Linked DNA regions of Homo sapiens: region 1 is linked to region 2. Evidence: promoter capture Hi-C in 16 types of primary human blood cells and fetal thymus (Javierre and others, 2016). All regions are on one chromosome and are shown on one strand. The core of a region is centred on a gene start or on the middle of the fragment in contact, and the rest is flanking DNA. Distances in the headings are between cores, read along the strand shown.

Evidence for each region. Contacts are between HindIII fragments. The CHiCAGO score rates a contact against its expected background, and 5 or more counts as called.
Region 1: a fragment that was not itself captured here is called in contact with the fragment with the promoter of PAIP2B in region 2 in 4 of 17 cell types (total B cells, erythroblasts, naive B cells and 1 more); the score reaches 10.2 in total B cells.

Annotation. Positions count from the first base shown.
Region 1 is chr2:71,507,093-71,511,534 of GRCh38, reverse strand. The region is part of intron 4 of DYSF (dysferlin); the gene reads right to left. Among named protein-coding and RNA genes, the nearest start is that of DYSF, 43 kb to the right of the region's middle. RefSeq lists an enhancer at 3,981-4,442. The HindIII fragment of the contact is 1,358 bases long and covers 589-1,946 here.
Region 2 is chr2:71,223,613-71,228,419 of GRCh38, reverse strand. PAIP2B (poly(A) binding protein interacting protein 2B) reads left to right here and starts at 1,317. Exons shown (of 4, transcript NM_020459.1): 1 at 1,317-1,492. RefSeq lists enhancers at 1,032-1,171, 1,387-1,887. The HindIII fragment of the contact is 3,788 bases long and covers 1-3,027 here.

The DNA of each region.
Region 1 (4,442 bases), core at 18-2,517, 280 kb before region 2:
TAAAATTGGGGTTAGTCATAGCAATAGCACCTTCCTCACAGGTCAAATGTGGAGCAAATTAGTTGATGTAGCACGTAGTGGACTTCTGCAAATGAATCAGGGATCCAACCTCACCTGCAGGATTTTTCCCACTATCCACTTGGCCTGTCTTCAGGAAAATGTCCCTTTGGCCACTCTGCTCAGTCAATGGCTTGCCCCTACTTCTCCAGGGACAACTCAGCTTTGCTCTGCTTTGCTCAGGCTGCAGCTAGCACTGAGAGGGTCTCAGTGTGCTGCCAGGCTTGCAGAGCCCTCTTCCTTCCTGCCCCCCAGCACATCCTCAGCTGCCCCGGCTTGCACCGGCCAGAGAGGAGAGGGACTGGTGACATCCCTCACAGGCGAGGTCGGGTTGCCCATGCGCCCACCCCACCCCAACCCTCACCCTGAACCTGGGAACGGCACAACCTCAGCAGGATCTGCAGCCTGGCTGCTCCCGGGCCTGCCTGAGCCCTGTCCCGGCTCCACAGGTCCAGCAAGCCTCCTGGGGCAGCCAGTCTCTCAAATTAGTGCAACGGATACTCTAAGAAAGTTTGGGAAGCACAGAAAGCTTAAAGAGGAAAAATAAGGCAAAAGAAAACCAATTGTCCATAATTCCGTGACTCCACATTCCAGTTCTCTCCAATCTTTCAAACAAATAGTAGACAGATCTGCTGTATGCAAAATGATTTTCTTTTACTGAATGTCAGGCAATAAGCTCTCCCCAGGTTTTGACAAACCCTTTATAAACACAATTTTTCCTGAGGCATAATGTCCCTCTGAGTGGCTCTGGCACAGTTCACTGGACCTTTCTGCTGAATGATGTTAGGGACGTCCAGGGACTCACAGAGCAAACTCAGTCCCAAGAGAGAAGGGCCTGAAGGCTCCCGACATACTCAGCTCTTGAGCTTGAACTCTCCAGACTGGGGCCTGGGGACAGCCACACTAAGGAGAGCAGCACTGGTGGAAAGCAGGGCTCAGAACACTGAGGAAGGAGACAAGAGCTAGCTCAGCATCCCAGGAGACCCAGGAGGAGGTCAACAAAGGCAACTGAGACCCTTGAATTCCCTCACCCAAGGAATGAACATAACCTGCCCTGTGGGTTCCTGAATCACCACCAGGTGTCGCCACGTGAGCAGCCAGTCCCTTCAGCTCCTGCAACCCGTGGAGGGGAAAAGAAGAAAGTCCTCCCCTCCGCCCAGATGCCACACCTGACTCCTAGAGATGCCAGTTCAGTAGGTCTAGGGTGGGCCTGGGTATTTGCACTTTTAACAACTGTCCTGGGACTTTCTTCCACTTCAGCAAAAGGTAAGTTGGGCTCTTTGGAGAAATAACTACTTCCAGGGCTAGGGCAGGGAAGATACAAGATGAGCCTGGACCATCTTCTTGCACCAGAAAGGAAGGAAATGCTCAATGAATGACTGATTCTTAAAAACACATCAAAAGAGCCTGGGCGAGGTGGTTCATGCCTGTAATCCCTTTGGGAGGCCGAGCCAGGCGGATCTCTTGAGGTCAGGAGTTTGAGACCAGCCTGGCCAACATGGTGAAACCCCATCTCTACTAAAAATACAAACATATTAGCCAGGCGTGGTGGCATGCACCTGTAATCCCTGCTACTCAGGAGGCTGAGGCAGGAGAATCGCTTGAACCTTGGCGGCAGAGGTCGCAATGAGTCGATCACACCACTGCACTCCAGCCTGGGTTACAGAGCAAGACTCTGCCTCAAAAACATAAAATAAAATAATAAATAAATAATAAAAAGTAAAAACATGTCAAAAGGACACAGAAGCCAACTTTCAAGAGCTCCCACAGGCCAAATCTGAGACAATAGAAACATGAAAATACATAATAACAGTAACAGATTAAACAATTGAATAAAATAGAAATACCCAAATCCATACCACAGTAAATAAATAGGAGAGGAGAAAGCTTTTCCTGACCACGAAATGCCAACTGACTAATGCAGGAAAAATAACTGAGAATATCACTATTTAGCAATCATCAAAGCAATAATGAATTCAACCAAGAAACAGCAGTGATATTAAAACTCCTGGGTACGGCCAGGTACAGTGGCTCACAACTATAATCCCAGCACTTTGGGAGGCTGAGACAGGAGGATTTCTTGAGCCCAGAGTTCAAAACCAGCCTGGACAACATAGTGAGACCCTCATCTTTACAAAAAACAAAAAATTAGCCAGGCATGGTGGCCCACGCTTATAGTTCCAGCTACTCAGGAGGCTGAGGTGGGAGAATCACTTGAGCCTGGGAGGTCAAGGCTGCAGTGAGCCATGATTACACCACTGCATTCCAGCTGGGCAACAGAATGAGACCAGTCTCAAAACAAAAACAAAAACACTTCATGACGGCTGGGCACAGTGGCTCACGCCTGTAATCCCAGCACTTTGGGAGGCCGAGGTGGGTGAATCACCTGAGGTCAGGGGTTCAAGACCAGCCTGGCCAACATGGTAAAACCCCCCATCTCTATAAAAATACAAAAAAAATAGCCAGGTGTGGTGGCATGCCCCTGTAATCCCAGCTACTTGGGAGGCTGAGGTGGGAGGATTGGTTGAACCCGGGAGGCGGAGGCTGCAGTGAGCCAGGATCGTGCCACTGCACTCCAGCCTGGGCAGCAGAGTGACATACCGTCTCAAAAAAAGTAAAAATACAAATACAAAACAACAGCTCATAGAACTCACGGGTAAAGGTTAGATGACAAAGAGGATATTACAAAGTCACAAAATTCTGACATGAGAAAGGGGAGTAGATGAACGATTAGCGGGGACACCCAGCAAATGCTAGTGTAATCAAATGATCACAGTTAACAGTGTGGTAACCAAACGAATCACAATCATCCCACCTGATAGGGCACAAAGACAGCCACGCAGCATCAGTGTTACACTCACACCCAAGACACACAGCCTAAATCTAAACACAGGAAACATCAGACAAAACCAATGTGGGGGACATTCTACAAATAATTGGCCGGAATTTCAAAAAAATATCCAGCTACAAGGTTATAAAAGTCAAAGAAAGACTGAGGAATTATTCCAAATGGAAGGAAACTGAAGAAACAAAACAACTAGGTGCAACACATGAGCCTTAGTGGGATCCTTCTGCTACAAAGGACACTGGGAAAAATGGATGAGCCGCGACTGGGGTCTGGGGATTAGACGAGAGTGCTGTGTCCATGTTAATTTCATCGTTTGGAAGGCTGTGTTGTGGTTATGTAGGAGAAAGTCCTTAACTGGAGAACACACACTCGAGTTCAGAATGATGGGCCAGGAGGTTGGCACCCTCATGTCAAATGGCTTAGGACAAAATACTCTTTGTACCATACTTGGCAACTTTTGTCTAGATCTTAAATATTTCCAAATAAAAGGTTTTGAAAATCTGCTTCTTTTTAGGAATAGCCACAGGAATCTCCTTAGGCAGAGACAAATAAAGCCCCCTGCCCATCCATGCTGACTCCGGCCCTCCAAGATTAGCATGAGGTCAGGACCAGCTGCATAATGTGCAAGCCCAGCACAAATGAAAATGCAGAGCCCCTTATTCCAAAATCAAAAACTAGTTGGGCGTGGTAGCCATGCTTGTAGTCCCAGCTATTCAGGAGGCTGAGGCGAGAGGATCACTTGAGCCTACTTGAGCCCCGGAGGTCAAGGATGCAGTGAGCTTTAAGAATTTCAAGATGGAAACAGAAGAGAATTAAGCCAAGCATGAGGCCCTTGTGAGCGCAGGGCTCCGTGCAGTGGCCCCAGAGGCCAGGCCTGTGGGGGGTGTTTGTTTGACTTGGCCTGAGTTGGGCCCACATCTGAAAGATGAACACTGAGGGCCCTGCCTGACATGTCTGGCCTGACCCATTCATTCATTAACTCACATATTCATTCCCTCTACGTGTGTGTGTGTGCGCGCACACGTGCCTGTGTGTTGGGCACCTGCCAGGGCCAAACACACTGTTCAAGATTCTGGGGACGCTTCCATAAATAAGGCAAAGGTCCCTGCCCCCATGGAGCTGATGTCTTGGCAGAGAAGACAGACAATAAATAATAAACAAAATAAATACATAAAGAAGAGAGTATGTTAGAAAGAAAAGAAAAAGTAAACCAGAGCAAGAAGGATCAGGGGAATGAGACATTTTGCAGATTGCAGTGTTAAATCAAGCGGTCTGAGTGGACCCCATTGAGCTGAGGAGAGTGAAGCAAAAACTTGAAGGGGCCACACCTGGGCTGCCCTTGGGCCTCTGACCTTGGAAACAGGTCCCCTGGAAGAGCGCCCCTTCCTGTTTCTAGGGGCTCACCCTGCTATCCACTCACTGCACACCACCTGGGGGCTTCTATACACCATCTCTGTGAGAGGTGGAGCCGCCGGAGTGTAACTCTTCCACACCGTGCCCAGTGCCAGCTCCTCAGCACTGGGGCTTGGGAGCAGCC
Region 2 (4,807 bases), core at 68-2,567:
ATCGCCTCCCACCAAGTCCCTCCCCCAACATTGGGAATTATAATTCAAAATGAGATTTGGGTGGGGACACAGAGCCAAACCATATCAAAGTATACAGCTAATATTTATAATTGTTATTTGAGTTTATCTTTTTCATTTTTATATTTTTTCCATTCATTCTGCAATTCCCTAACTTTGTGTCATGTATACAGTCAGCTTGAGAGGTGGGGGGGAGAGAAAAATGTATAAAGTAAGAGCTCCACAAAGAAATCCCTACTTCCTGTGGAATACAATTCGAAGTCCTTTGCAAGCAGATTGGACATTCTAAATCCAAGGGAGGCAATAAAGTTTTATTTTAATTTGTATTTATTGATGTATTTTTTTTTGAGTCGCAACCTCACTCTATTGCCCAGATTGGAGTGCAGTGGTGCGATCTTGGCTCACTGCAACCTCTGCCTCCCGGGTTCAAGTGATTCTCCTGCCTCAGCCTCCCGAGTAGCTGGGACTACAGGAGCCCGCCACCACGCCCAGCTAATTTTTGCATTTTTAGTAGAGACGGGGTTTCACCATACTGGCGAGGCTGGTCTAGAACTCCTGACCTTGTGATCCGCCCGTCTCGGCCTCCCAGAGTGGTGGGATTACAGGCGTGAGCCACCGCGCCCGGCCAAGTTTTATTTTTTTAAAGCACTCAAGAAGTTAGGTTTGTTTCTAGAAACGTGGAAGCATCCGTCTGCTTCCTTCCAGCGTCCCTTTGCTTCCTTCCAGCCTCCCAAGGAGCCCAATTCCTTAATTTTCCCTACAGAGAATAGCACCAGGTCCAAAGCAGCCTGAATCAAAGCTCCTCCTTTGGTAATTGACAGCTGAGGGAAATCCTACTGAGGCCCACCCCCACCCTCCTCCTTGCTAGGCTGACAGGCAAAACTCGGTGGCAGTGGCTTCCAGCTCAGCCAATAGACGAAGCGGGAGCAAGAGCCTGTGTAAACAAACCCAGAGTGCGGCGCCTTGGTCTCCTCCCCCACGAGTGGGCCGGGCGCATCCTTGGCCCAATGCCTATCCCAGGCTAGCGTAGCGTCCTTTCAGCCAATCAGAGCCGGCATCTCCCTCAAGGAGGTGTTCCACCACAGGAAAAAAAAAATGAAGGAAGAGAAAAGACAGACATTAAAACCAATCAGAAGCTGAAACTTCTGAGGGAGTGGGCGGGCACTGCTTCACATTTAGACCAATAAAAACCACATATGCCATTCTAGGTGACCGAACGGCATCTTCTTTGGCCCAATAGACGAATGGGGCGGTGCCCGGCAACCAATGGCTTGGGTTCGGGGGCGGGGCGAGGAGGCAGTGTGCAGTAAGAGATAACCTGGCAAGTGGTAGTGGCGCTTCTCGGGTGCTGTGCTTCACGTTTTGGTACTAAAGGCCGAGACTGTTGTGGCGACGGCGACCTCTACGGCAACGGCTTAAGCTCTCGGAGGAGTGGCAGAGTACGATCTGAAGGAGGGGCTTCTGGTTAGCCCAGGTGGGCTCGGGTGCCCGGGCTGCTGGGGAAAGGACTCGAGGGAAACGCCGTTCTCCCGGCTCTGGGGGCGCCCTGCGCCTCCCTTTCTGCCGCCGTCGGGGCTGTGAAGGGCGGCACGCGCCTGCCCGAGCTCCTGTAGGGAGGGAAAGCGCGCGGGGTCCCACGTCGCGGCCATCGGCGAAAAGGGGCGTCCGCTGGGGTCAGCCCCTGCCCCTCGGGAGCAATAGGGGGTTTTCGTCCCTTTCCCCCCCGCACAGGTGCTCTGTTTCCCCCCGACTCCCACCCAAGTTCCTGACTCCCCTCAGCGTCCTCCTAACACTCGAACCGAATTCTTGGCCTGAGTCCCATTTCTACCCAGGTGCAACAATGCTAGGCAAATTGACCCGCGCGGCATCCCCCGCCCCTCTCCCCGGGCTGGAGCGGGAGGGATTGCGCGTCGTGCCCTTCCCCTATTCGCGGCCCCTGCGCGTCCTCTGCCTTTTTATACTTGCTCCATCTCCCCCTTGACTCCAGCCCTCATTCTTCATGCCTCATTTGCCTGGGAGACGTTCGCCACTTCTCTTGTGCCTTGCGGTCCGTGAGTGAGCCCATCACCCCCTACCAACCCCTAAATTCCATTCTCATCTCTCCAGAAAACTAACATTTTCCACTTGCCTCTTCCAGGCAGCTGGAAGGTGAACTGAGAGAGGCAGAATACGCAGAACAGGGAGTTTGGCAAGGTTGGGAACTTTAATGTTTTGTTCCTGGTAGACTGTTTTTGCCTTCAAATGGCATTTGACCATTATACCCGCTCTAGAATCTTTGTCCTAATGCAGTTCTTTTGGTGGTAATTGCTGAAAATGCAGTTGAAAAGGGCTAACTAGAAGCAAGGGATTTAAATTTTGTTACTATTATTTTCAGTAAATTGAATTGGATTATACTTTAAACAGCTTAACTGGGGTTTCTGGGAGTTTGTAGTGTAAGGGCCTGGCTACCCTACTTTGTCATAAAATATAGAACATACTTAGTTGTACAGCACAGTGTGATTCGATCACACCCAACCTATGAAGGGATAATAACAGCATTGAATCTGTCCAAAAACAACATTCCCTGTTCCCTTTTCACCTTCATAGTATATTCGTTTGGTTTCTAGTAATGTCGGTTCTAGCCATATGTTTTTTGATAACAGTACAAACTATGCTGTGCCTAAGTAAAATTATGCCAACAATTTTATGGGGAAAAGCTAATGCACTGCTCTTAGCTTTGATTAAGATTTTAGACGTTTGAAAATATAAATTCAGATATTGGACAGTGAGGGTTTTATTTTGAAGGTTGGAGGAGATTGAAGTGTTGGGGTAAGACTGATAGGCTCCTCTGGCTACTTGTATATCGGGGTGGGGAGAATATACAGGTTTACAAAATCTTGTAAATTCTCACAGTGCTTAGTTTCCTGACTTTTCAAAAATTGGAATTGTTTTTCCTAGCTTTCAGTGGAGAAATGTAAGCTATGAGTTTAACATCATGTTCACTGTGTTTTGGCCAGGATTTTGCAAGCTTTTGTGGAAAAAATTATATTGCTTTCTTTATCCTGTTTGTAATGTATGTATCAGTATGCTTCCTTGTATTTTACTGTGGTAAAATTGTATCTTGTATATAAAGAAAAAAGTCTATTATAGTGAATTAAAAGAAATCTTTACTCTGAGGTGGCAGCCTTGTCTAATGGACCATATGTTTAAGCCTTGTTAATAAATCACACTAGAGCCTAGCACAGTGGTGTGTGCCTGTAATCCCAGCCACTTAGGAGGCTGAGGCAGGAGGATTGCTTGAACCTAGGAGTTTAAGACAAGCCTGGGCAACATAGTGAGACCCCATCTCAGTCAATCAACCAATCAATCAATTACACTAAAAAGAGTAAGATCTTAAAACTGTTCCAACAAATGTCTGGGTGTCTAAAACAAGGAAAAGAGTTTATGACAGAGTTACAGCAGTCATCAGAGAAAAATCCTGGACAAATTGCAAATCTGTAACAGTTGTGAATTGCTGTGACTGCAGCTGAAAACCAAAGTTATTTTTGTGCAGTCTTTTTTGGGAGTATTTGTGTTTAATAATAACTTGTTTGCAAATTTAGAGGACTCTAGCTATGATTTCTTCTTAGAGACCTTGAGGAGCTCACAGTTTAATGGAAGAGAGAACTAGAAACCAATAATTAAATGCAGAGAGTGAGGTTCTGCAGTAGAAGGTATATACAGGGTGCAGAGAAGCACGATGGCACTGTGTTCTGATCTCATCTCCTACTGCTCTAGACTTCCTGAAGTGCCATTTCCTGAACCTACCTGTTTTTTTCCACCATCTGGACCTCTCTCTGTATGCACCATTCTCTCTCCTTGCAAGCCTTTTCCACACCTTATGTGCTTGGTGAAATTCTGTTTCTTCAAAATCTTGAAGCCTGCCTCTGCCTCATCCAAATGTTTTGCCTACTTCTCTGTTATTTCTTTATAAATAATTATAGTCAATTCTCATTATTTGCAGTAGTTATATTCTATAAAGTTGCCAAGAACACTGAATTATCAAATATTCAACCCTTGTTCCCAGGGAAAATATATACATATATACATATCTCACACAGATTACAAAATTAATTCCTAAAAACAACTCATCCTGGTAGATTGAATTTTCCTTACTTACAAAAAATAAAGGAAGTACAGAAGTGTTAAGCGATTTGCCTGAGGCCTCTCTACTAACAGGTGCCAGAGTTAAGATTCAGACTCGTCCAGATGGCCCCAGAGCCAGAGCTTCTTGCACTACGCTGCACTGCCCTCTGCTGTCTCTGTCCTCTGGTCATCTTTGTATGAGGGCTGAGACAAGGCTGAGGGTCACCTTGGGACTTGGGCAAGGAGTGACATATTTTTCACTACTATGTGTATATCCATAAGTCACCTTGAAAGCTCCACAAGTATTTGGGGATTACAAAGACATTTTAGCAAGTAAGCAAATTTGCAAATATGGGATCCACAAATAATGAAGATGAACTGTATTTGTAAGTGACTGCTAGGGTCTGTTTCATGGTAACCCCTTTCCCCAACAATGTGGACTATTTCTTTAGCTTATTTGATAGTTTGTACATTTATTCATAAATTTATTCAGTTATCATATATTCATTCATTCAGTTTGTTCATTTATCATATATTAAGCACTTACCATAAGTCAGACTCGGCTGAGCGTGGTGGTTCATGCCTGTAATCCCAGCACTTTGGGAGGCTGAGGCAGGTGGATCACGAGGTCAGGAGTTCAATACCAACCTGTCCAGGATGGTGGAACCCTGTCTCTACTAAAAAT